Regions from separate parts of the Homo sapiens genome. Here region 1 is linked to region 2. The links are contacts of gene promoters, found by promoter capture Hi-C in human tissues and cell types (Jung and others, 2019). All regions are on one chromosome and are shown on one strand. Each heading gives the region's core, a stretch centred on a gene start or on the middle of the fragment in contact. The rest is flanking DNA. Distances are from core to core; before and after follow the strand shown. Region 1 holds the start of SLC22A7 (solute carrier family 22 member 7). Region 2 holds the start of DNPH1 (2'-deoxynucleoside 5'-phosphate N-hydrolase 1).

Region 1 (4,379 bases), core at 1,195-3,694, 69 kb after region 2:
GCTTCCCTATGAGGTAGGGCCAGGGAATAAGATGGAGCCAGAGGTAAAATTAATGCCAAATTACTCTCTGGAGAAAGGGGCTGCAGATTTATTTATTTTTTATTTTTGAGACAGAGTTCCACTCCTGTTGCCCAGGCTGGAGTGCAGTCGCACGATCTCGGCTCACTACAACCTCCACCTCCCAGATTCAAGCAATTCTCCTGCCTCAGCCTCCTGAGTAGCTGAGATTACAGGCGCTTGCCCCCATGTCCAGCTAATTTTTTGTATTTTTGGTAGAGACAGTTTTGCCATGTTGGCCAGGCTGGTCTCAAACTCCTGACCTCAGGTGACCCACCCGCCTTGGCCTCCCAAAGTGCTGGGATTACAGGCATGAGCCACTGTGCCTGGCCAGGGCTGCAGATTTAGATTTGAGTTTCCTAGGAGCCAATGTCAGGAGGGAGAGGTAACCACTGCATGATTATCAGCTATTTCTGATATTAAAGCAGGAGAGAAATTCCCATTGTGAAAACTAAGTCGTCACAGCCAATGGCTGAGGTTGGCCTCGTTAGCTGTCTTCTCTGGCTGTGAAAAAACTTCAGAGTATTACCCTGTGGAGCCACTGGATGGGACATGGAGATGGGGTGACCACAAAACTTACCTCTCAGGAGCTGCAAAGTGTTATGGTATTTTATACATTTTATATTAATAATATCATTACATAGTATTAAATGAGGGAGGAACCAACAGTGTGAGGTCACACGTGAGTGAGGATGAGAAGGGTGGAGGTGTCTCCCCTTGAGCTGGTCTTCAGGGAGGTTTGGGCATCCACTTGGTGAATGAGGAGGAAGCCACATTGTCCAAGGGACCACACTAGGGTGTGACATGCCAATGAGCTGGTGTGTGCAGAGAACTAGAGGGAAGGGAGCATGTTGGAGAGGGGTCAGGGGTGGACTGGGGGAGAGGATCTAGTCCTAGGGAAGTCATAAGGGCCAAGCTAAGGAGCTAGACTTTCCCCCTCAGGCAGCAGAAGCTGGTGAAGGGTTTTAAACAGGGATGTGACCCTCTTAGATTTGTGTTTAAATGTTCACTGTGGCCAGTGTATGGAGAATGGGTTGAAAGGGGTGAGACTGGAGACAGGGAGGGTTAGCTTATTTTAACCCTCCTGTAAGCTCCCTAAGGGTAGGGACCGTGTCTGAGGCATCTATGTACCCTCTAGAATGGCGAGGATGCACTAGAGACTCAAACATTTCTTCTCATTGTCACCCCCTGTCACTGCCACCACCATTAGCTGCCTCTTGCTTCACTCCATGGCTGTCAGCACCCCCATTAACACACGCCATGCCATCGATTTAGCTCCTTTCCCAGCGCTTTCTCAGGGATCCCAGCCTGGAGCAGACTGGGACATCACCAGCTCAGCAGCTTAGGTCAAAAGTGAGATTCCTGGTCTGGAGTCAGGGGACCTGGTCTTTTCTTCAGCTCTGCTGCTGAGTCATTGTGTGACCCCAGCAGGTCCCCTCCCTGTCTTTAGTTTTCTGACCTGTTCAAAGTAGGAGCTGGATTAAACCAGTGGGTCTGCCAGCTAAGTGTTTGGAGAATCAGATGAGAATAAACCAGACATTGCTGGTTTCTGCTGTACTTTTGCTGCAGGGACCATGATTGAGAATTGAGTGGGAGGGTCAGATTGAACATTTGAGTCTTAGGTATTGCATGTACCTTTGACAAGACCTTGGTAACTCCCCCTCCCCCATTCCCTACCCCTCCAAAAGGTAATCTTAGGCATTGCAGGTACCTTGGCAACATGTCCCCCGCCATTCCCTATCCCTCCAAAAGGTAATTTAGGAAGCTGCTGGAAATAGGGGAATGGGACAGGCAGTTGGAACCATATGTATGGGGAGAGTCCCTGAGTGAAGTGGGAATGGGATGAGCCTGGGATCCTCAGAGACATCAAGTTGCCCGGTGTGATCACAGGTGTGTCTTAGGCCAGGGCATCAGCTCCCAGCAGGGGAGAGGGATGCGAGGAGGCCTCATGGCTCAGCAGAAAGAAACCTGGTTAGGATCCAGCTTTCAGTCCTGAATCCTGGGCTGTCGGCCAGGCCATGGCTGTAGCTGCAAATAGGCAAGGCTGACCTAAGGTCTCACAGGACAAAGGGCACCCTGGGAGAGCTGGCCCCAGGCCCCAGGGGCCTCCTCTTCTTAGGGATCCTGGGAGCTCTGCTGACCAAGGGGCTAGGGGCTCACCTCCTATGCCATCACCCAGCTACCTCATCATGGTAGCCTTGGTCCCTGAACACTAATGGGTAAGCCCCAGAGCCACGAGCCAGTGACCTCTGAATGGATGGCTTCCCCTTCCCCCAGGCACCAGGCAAGACAGGTAGAGGTCCCTGGAGACCTGATGGCTGGGGAGGGCCCAGTCCTGGGCCAGCCCCTGAGGGCTGGATTCTGGCTGCAGGCTCTCCAGTCCATCCACTCCCACCTCCAGAGTCCAAGGGTCTATGTGGTGGGCAGTTTGAGCTGGCTGGATACTAGAGGGAGGCTGCACCTGAAGCATTTGGTGGGTGAGCAGCATGGGCTTTGAGGAGCTGCTGGAGCAGGTGGGCGGCTTTGGGCCCTTCCAACTGCGGAATGTGGCACTGCTGGCCCTGCCCCGAGTGCTGCTACCACTGCACTTCCTCCTGCCCATCTTCCTGGCTGCCGTGCCTGCCCACCGATGTGCCCTGCCGGGTGCCCCTGCCAACTTCAGCCATCAGGATGTGTGGCTGGAGGCCCATCTTCCCCGGGAGCCTGATGGCACGCTCAGCTCCTGCCTCCGCTTTGCCTATCCCCAGGCTCTCCCCAACACCACGTTGGGGGAAGAAAGGCAGAGCCGTGGGGAGCTGGAGGATGAACCTGCCACAGTGCCCTGCTCTCAGGGCTGGGAGTACGACCACTCAGAATTCTCCTCTACCATTGCAACTGAGGTACTTAAGCCCAGAAGTTGAGAGACATGTGAGAGGGATGGGCCTGCCATTGCCTTGGGTGGTTACTGTGTAGGCATTAGATGTATTACTTTACCTCTTAAAGTCTCAGTTTACCAATCTGTAGATGGGGGCTATGAATATAAGGCACTTTTAGTTCATGGCTTGTAGTAACAGGATCCTACACAAGAACTGTTATCATCATCATTAATTGGGAGGTGATTAAGGCAGGGAAGGGCTAAAGTGGCTTCAGGGAGTTGAGACAAAGAGCTGAGAAGGCAATTTCTGCAGCAAGAGGTGGAGAAACAATAGAGGCCTTCTTTTCTCCCTTCCTCTTTTCCAGTCCCAGGTCGGTATTTACATAATCCATCTGGAGGTGGAATGTCGGTGGAGGCAGTCTCCCTGGGAGGCAGCAGGTCGAGGCCTTCCTTGGGAAGAAGCTGAGGCTGCAGGACTGGGGAGGGACAAAGTTTCCTATTCCCCAAGCTGGCGTGAATCGTTGGGAGGTTTATTATCTGGCATGGAGGTACCAGAATGGCAGAGTTCGCCTCAGAAGGCTCCAGGGTCTGGAGAGGAGGAGCTGGTGCCTGCTGGAGAGGGGCTGATGTTCATAGGAGGTCCCTTTCTGCCTGTCCTTGCAGTGGGATCTGGTGTGTGAGCAGAAAGGTCTGAACAGAGCTGCGTCCACTTTCTTCTTCGCCGGTGTGCTGGTGGGGGCTGTGGCCTTTGGATATCTGTCCGACAGGTGGGGTGAGGCACTGGGCCAATAAGAAACTGGCTGGGGGAACTTTCTCCCACTAGCTGGGGTATGAGCCTAGTCTACCTATGCCTTAGAACCTCCTTCCACAGGGAACTGACCCTGCATGACCCCTTTGCAGGTTTGGGCGGCGGCGTCTGCTGCTGGTAGCCTACGTGAGTACCCTGGTGCTGGGCCTGGCATCTGCAGCCTCCGTCAGCTATGTAATGTTTGCCATCACCCGCACCCTTACTGGCTCAGCCCTGGCTGGTTTTACCATCATCGTGATGCCACTGGGTGAGGCAGGCAAGAAACAGGCAGGACCTAGAGGGCTGGAAGAAGGCAGTTGTCAGAGTGAGGCTGAGCCCATCTGGTCCTCACTAACCATCTTCCTGTCTCCTGTCCTGGCCCAGAGCTGGAGTGGCTGGATGTGGAGCACCGCACCGTGGCTGGAGTCCTGAGCAGCACCTTCTGGACAGGGGGCGTGATGCTGCTGGCACTGGTTGGGTACCTGATACGGGACTGGCGATGGCTTCTGCTAGCTGTCACCCTGCCTTGTGCCCCAGGCATCCTCAGCCTCTGGTGAGGACTGCAGGCAGCTGGGGAGCGGGAGATACAGGAAGTGAAAGATGAGATTAATCAGAGCCTGAGATTTGAGGATAGAGAGATTGAGAGATGAAGGGAAAGAGAAACGAAGTGACCAAGAGACA
Region 2 (4,070 bases), core at 198-2,697:
TGAGCTGAGATTTTGCCACTGCACTCCAGCATGGGTAATAGAACAAGACTGTTTCCAAATAAATAACTAAATAAATAGAAAGAGAAAGAAAAACCCAGCAGCCAGGAGCAGAACACAATAATGGCCTGAAAGAGAATATGAGGCCAGCATGGGGGCTCACATCTATAGTCCCAGCACTTCGGGAGGCCTGAGGCGGGAGGATCACTTGAGGCTAGGAGGTCGGGACCAGACTGGGCAACATAGTGAGACTCCCAATCTCTACAGAAAAATTTTGAGCCAGGCATGGTGTCGTGCCCCTGCAGTCCTTGCTAATAGGAGGCTGAGGCTGGAGGATCATGAGTTTAGGAAGCCGAGGCTGCAGTGAGCTATGATCGCACCACTGCACTCCAGCCTGGGCGACAGAGAGGCCCTTGTATCAACAAAACAAAAATGTGAGAGAGGGTAATAGTGAGAACTGGGGTCAGCCAGGTCTAAAAGAGTGCTGATGTCTTCACAGAAAAAGGGGAGGCAGGCCCTGGGCGGTGGCTCCTGTCTGTAATCCCAGCACTTTGGGAGGCCGAGGCGGGCAGATCACCTGAGGTCAGGAGTTCGAAACCAGCCTGACCAATATGGTGAAACACCGTCTCTACTAAAAATACAAAAAGTAGCCGGGTGTGGTGACGCGTGCCTGTAGTCCCAGCTACTCGGGAGGCTGAGGCAAGAGAATCACTTGAACCCGGGAGGTCGAGGTTGCAGTGAGCCGAGATCACGCAACTGCACTCCAGCCTGGGCGACAGAGTGAGATTCCGTTTCAAAAACAAAACAAAACAAAACAAAAAAAGTTGGTGGGGAGGCAGGAGGATACCTTTCGTGTTGGGTGGTGGAAAAGATTCCAGCGGGTGAGGTGGGAACTGAGCCCAAGCAAAGCAGCCCAATCTACCTTCTTTCTGTTGCACCCTACAAACGCTCTGAAAGCAGCTGAAGACAGAGTTCTCCAAGAAGGAACCAAAGGTCAAGATAATGCTGAGTCTGCCTTACACCCGCAGGCTTGCTGGGACCCACGCAGCCCGAGCCCCGGCCCGTTTCCTTCTCGGGCTGGGGCGCTGGATGGAGCACCGGGGTAGGAGGGCGGGCTCCGGGCGCCGGGAGCGCAGCTGCCGGGGGTCGGGGGGGCGGACAGGCCGGGTCCCTGCCACCCCAGCCAGGTCCGCGCCCGCGTCCCCGCGTCCCGCGGCCCCAGGGCCTCACCGCGCGCGCCCAGCTCGGCGGCCGCCACGTGCTCGGTGAGCACTGTCCCGAATCGCCGCAGCCGAGACACGATCCGCTCGTACAGCGTCCTGTCCTCGCGTCCGCCGCGAATGCTCCCGCAGAAGTACAGGGCCGGGCGGCCAGGCTCCCCGCGCTCCCAGCTCTCGCTGCGCCCCGGCACCATGGCAGCAGCCATTCCCCAGCCGCCCGCGCTCTCCGGCGCCAGGGGGCGCCAGCCCGCGGCCACGTGACCCCGCCCGGCCCAGCGCAGAGCCCGGCTGCTGAGTCCACACCTGTGGAATGGGGACGACGAACTGGGAGGATCCAGCCGGGACCCTTTCGGGAACACACCCTTCCTGGACTTGACGTTCGGATGCCTAACACGCACCTTAACTTGACCTTGTCCAGGCAGAACTCGAGGGCTTCCCCACCTCACCCGCTTCTGCTCCCCTCCTCCCCGCCGTCTTCCCCAGCTGCATCCTCCCAGCTGCTCAGGCCCAAGACCCTCGGAGTCATCTGGATCGTTCCCTTTCTCTCAAACTCTGCGTCCCATCCATTGACAACTCGTGTGGATTCGTCCTTCCAAATCTGAAATCTCACGACCGCCTACAGGGCCACCACCCTGGTCTAAGCCTCCTCTGGGCTCTCCACAGCCTCCTAACAGGTGTCCACATGTCGTGAGCTGCTCAAGGTCAGACAGAACCAGGTCCACCCACCTTTGTGTCTGTCCACAAGATCAGGTTTTTACTGATGCTATTTCAATCACAAAAGCTAGGCGTCACACGGAGTTCCCAAGAAGTCAGTTCTCCTTAGGACCACCTGTTCACTCGGTAGTCAGAGCCGCGGGCATGCAAGCTGGAGCCACTCCACAAGTCAGACTGTATTGCAAACCATCCATAGTATTATATGTAAGGATATAAATGTTACAGGTTAAAATTTCACATCAAACACAAGAACATTTAACATCAAGAGAAAAGGGGTTAACGAACCAGTCCAAGGAGAGTGCTGTGGACAGAGTCCCGGCCTGATGGGGATAGTCATCAAGAGCTTGCAAGGAAGAGTCCTTGATTTGGGCAGAGCCTTCAGAGGCAGACACCAGGTGCTGGGCACGAGTGATAGCAAGACTCGGTCTGTTAAGGTGGCCGTGTCTAGCTGCTGAAGTCCTGATCATTTTATGGTCCTTGAGTCCTCTGATGAGGACTTATAGTAAAGGGTGATGCCCTTATCTGGTTGGGTGTTGTCTCCATTGGTTAGGCGAACATCTGGACCCTGTTGGCTTGATGCCTTTTGAAATGTAAGATGAAGTTTTTTAAAACTTTATTTATTTATTTATTTATTATTTTTGGTGACAAGGTCCCTGTCGCCCACACTGGAGTGCAGAGGCACGATCATTGCTCACTGCAGCCTCAAACTCGTGCCTCAAGTTTGAGGGTTCAAGGAATCCTCCCACCTCAGCTTCCTGAGTAGCTAGGACTACAGGCACGTGCCACCATGCTGAGCTAATAAAAAAAAAATTGGCTGGGCTCGGTGGCTCATGTCTGTAATCCCAGCACTTTGGGAGGCCGAGGTGGGCAGATCACGAGGTCAGGAGATCGAGACCATCCTGGCTAACGCGGTGAAACCCCGTCTCTACTAAAAATACAAAAAGTTAGCCAGGCGTGGTGGCACACTCCTGTAGTCCCAGCTACTCCAGAGGCTGAGGCTGGAGAATCGCTTGAACCCGGGAGGCAGAGGTTGCAGTGAGCCAAGATCACGCCACTGCACTCCAGCCTAGGCAACAGAGTGAAACTCCATCTCAAAAAAAAAAAAATTGTAGAGACGAGGTCTCACTATGTTTCCACGGCTGGTCTCAAAACTCCTAGACCCAAGCAATCCCCCTACCTCAGCCTCCCAAAGCGCTGGGATTACAGGCATAAGCGAATGTGCCCAGTGATGGAGTCTTTCTAAGATGGAATTACTTATGTCAAGGGTTCTCTATACACCTCCCCTGGCCCTTCCCTGCTACAGTTTGCTCTCCACTCAGCAGCTTGAGTGATCTAGGTCATGACCCTCCTCTGCTCAAAACCCTCCAGTGGTTCCCATCTCACTTGGGGTAAAAACTGAAAACCTCACAGTAGCTCACAAGGCTCCAGATGATCCTGTCACCCTCTTACTTCCCTAACTCCAGCTTCTATTACTTTCATTCACTTCTCTGCCACCTCACTGGCTTCCTGGCTGTTCCTTAAGCATGTCAGCCATGCCCTTGCCTCAGAGTCTTTGCATTTGCTGTTCCCTCTGCCCGGAACACTGTTCTCCCAGGTAGCTTCCTGGCTCACTCCTCATTTCCTTCAAGTCTTTGTTCACACTTCACCTTCCCTGATCACCCTATTCAATATGGCAGCCCTCCATCCCCCAGTACTCTCTATCACCCTTCCCTACCTTGCCTTTTCTCCTTCTCATACACCATATAACTTATTAATTTTGTTGCATGTTTTTCTATACCTAGTAGAAGGTCGTTCACTGCTGTATTCCTGCTTTCTTTCTTTTCTTTCTTTCCTTCTTTCTCTTTCTTTCTTCTTTCTTTCTTTTTCTTTCTTTCCTTCCTTCCTCCCTCCCGTCCTTCCTTTCCTTCCTTCCTTCCTCCTTCTTTCTTCTTTCTTTCTTTCTTTTTCTTTCTTTCTCCTTCTTTCTTCCTTCTTTCCCCTTCCTTCCTTCCTCTCTCTCTCTTCTTTCTTTCCCTTCCTCCCTCCCTTCCTTCCTCCCTTTCTTTCTTTCTCTTTTTTTCTCTTTCTTTCTTTTCTTTCTTAAGAGATGGTGTCTTGCTCTGTCACCCAGGCTGGAGTGCAGTGTCATGGTCACAGCTC

Evidence for each region. Contacts are between HindIII fragments. The study calls those that stand out against the background at their distance.
Region 1: a contact is called between the fragment with the promoter of SLC22A7 here and the fragment with the promoter of DNPH1 in region 2, in 3 of the 25 tissues and cell types used here (IMR-90 fibroblasts, adrenal gland and stomach).

What each region holds. Positions count from the first base shown.
Region 1 is chr6:43,295,816-43,300,194 of GRCh38, forward strand. SLC22A7 (solute carrier family 22 member 7) reads left to right here and starts at 2,445. Exons shown (of 11, transcript NM_153320.2): 1 at 2,445-2,936; 2 at 3,277-3,282; 3 at 3,575-3,678; 4 at 3,812-3,966; 5 at 4,083-4,251. The coding sequence starts at 2,544. LOC124901319 (a long non-coding RNA gene) reads right to left here. Exons shown (of 2, transcript XR_007059582.1): 2 at 3,127-4,001. The HindIII fragment of the contact is 32,193 bases long and covers 1-4,379 here.
Region 2 is chr6:43,228,034-43,232,103 of GRCh38, forward strand. DNPH1 (2'-deoxynucleoside 5'-phosphate N-hydrolase 1) reads right to left here and starts at 1,448. Exons shown (of 4, transcript NM_006443.3): 1 at 1,228-1,448. The coding sequence starts at 1,423. RefSeq lists silencers at 1,057-1,246, 1,307-1,746 and an enhancer at 1,230-1,729. The HindIII fragment of the contact is 36,780 bases long and covers 1-4,070 here.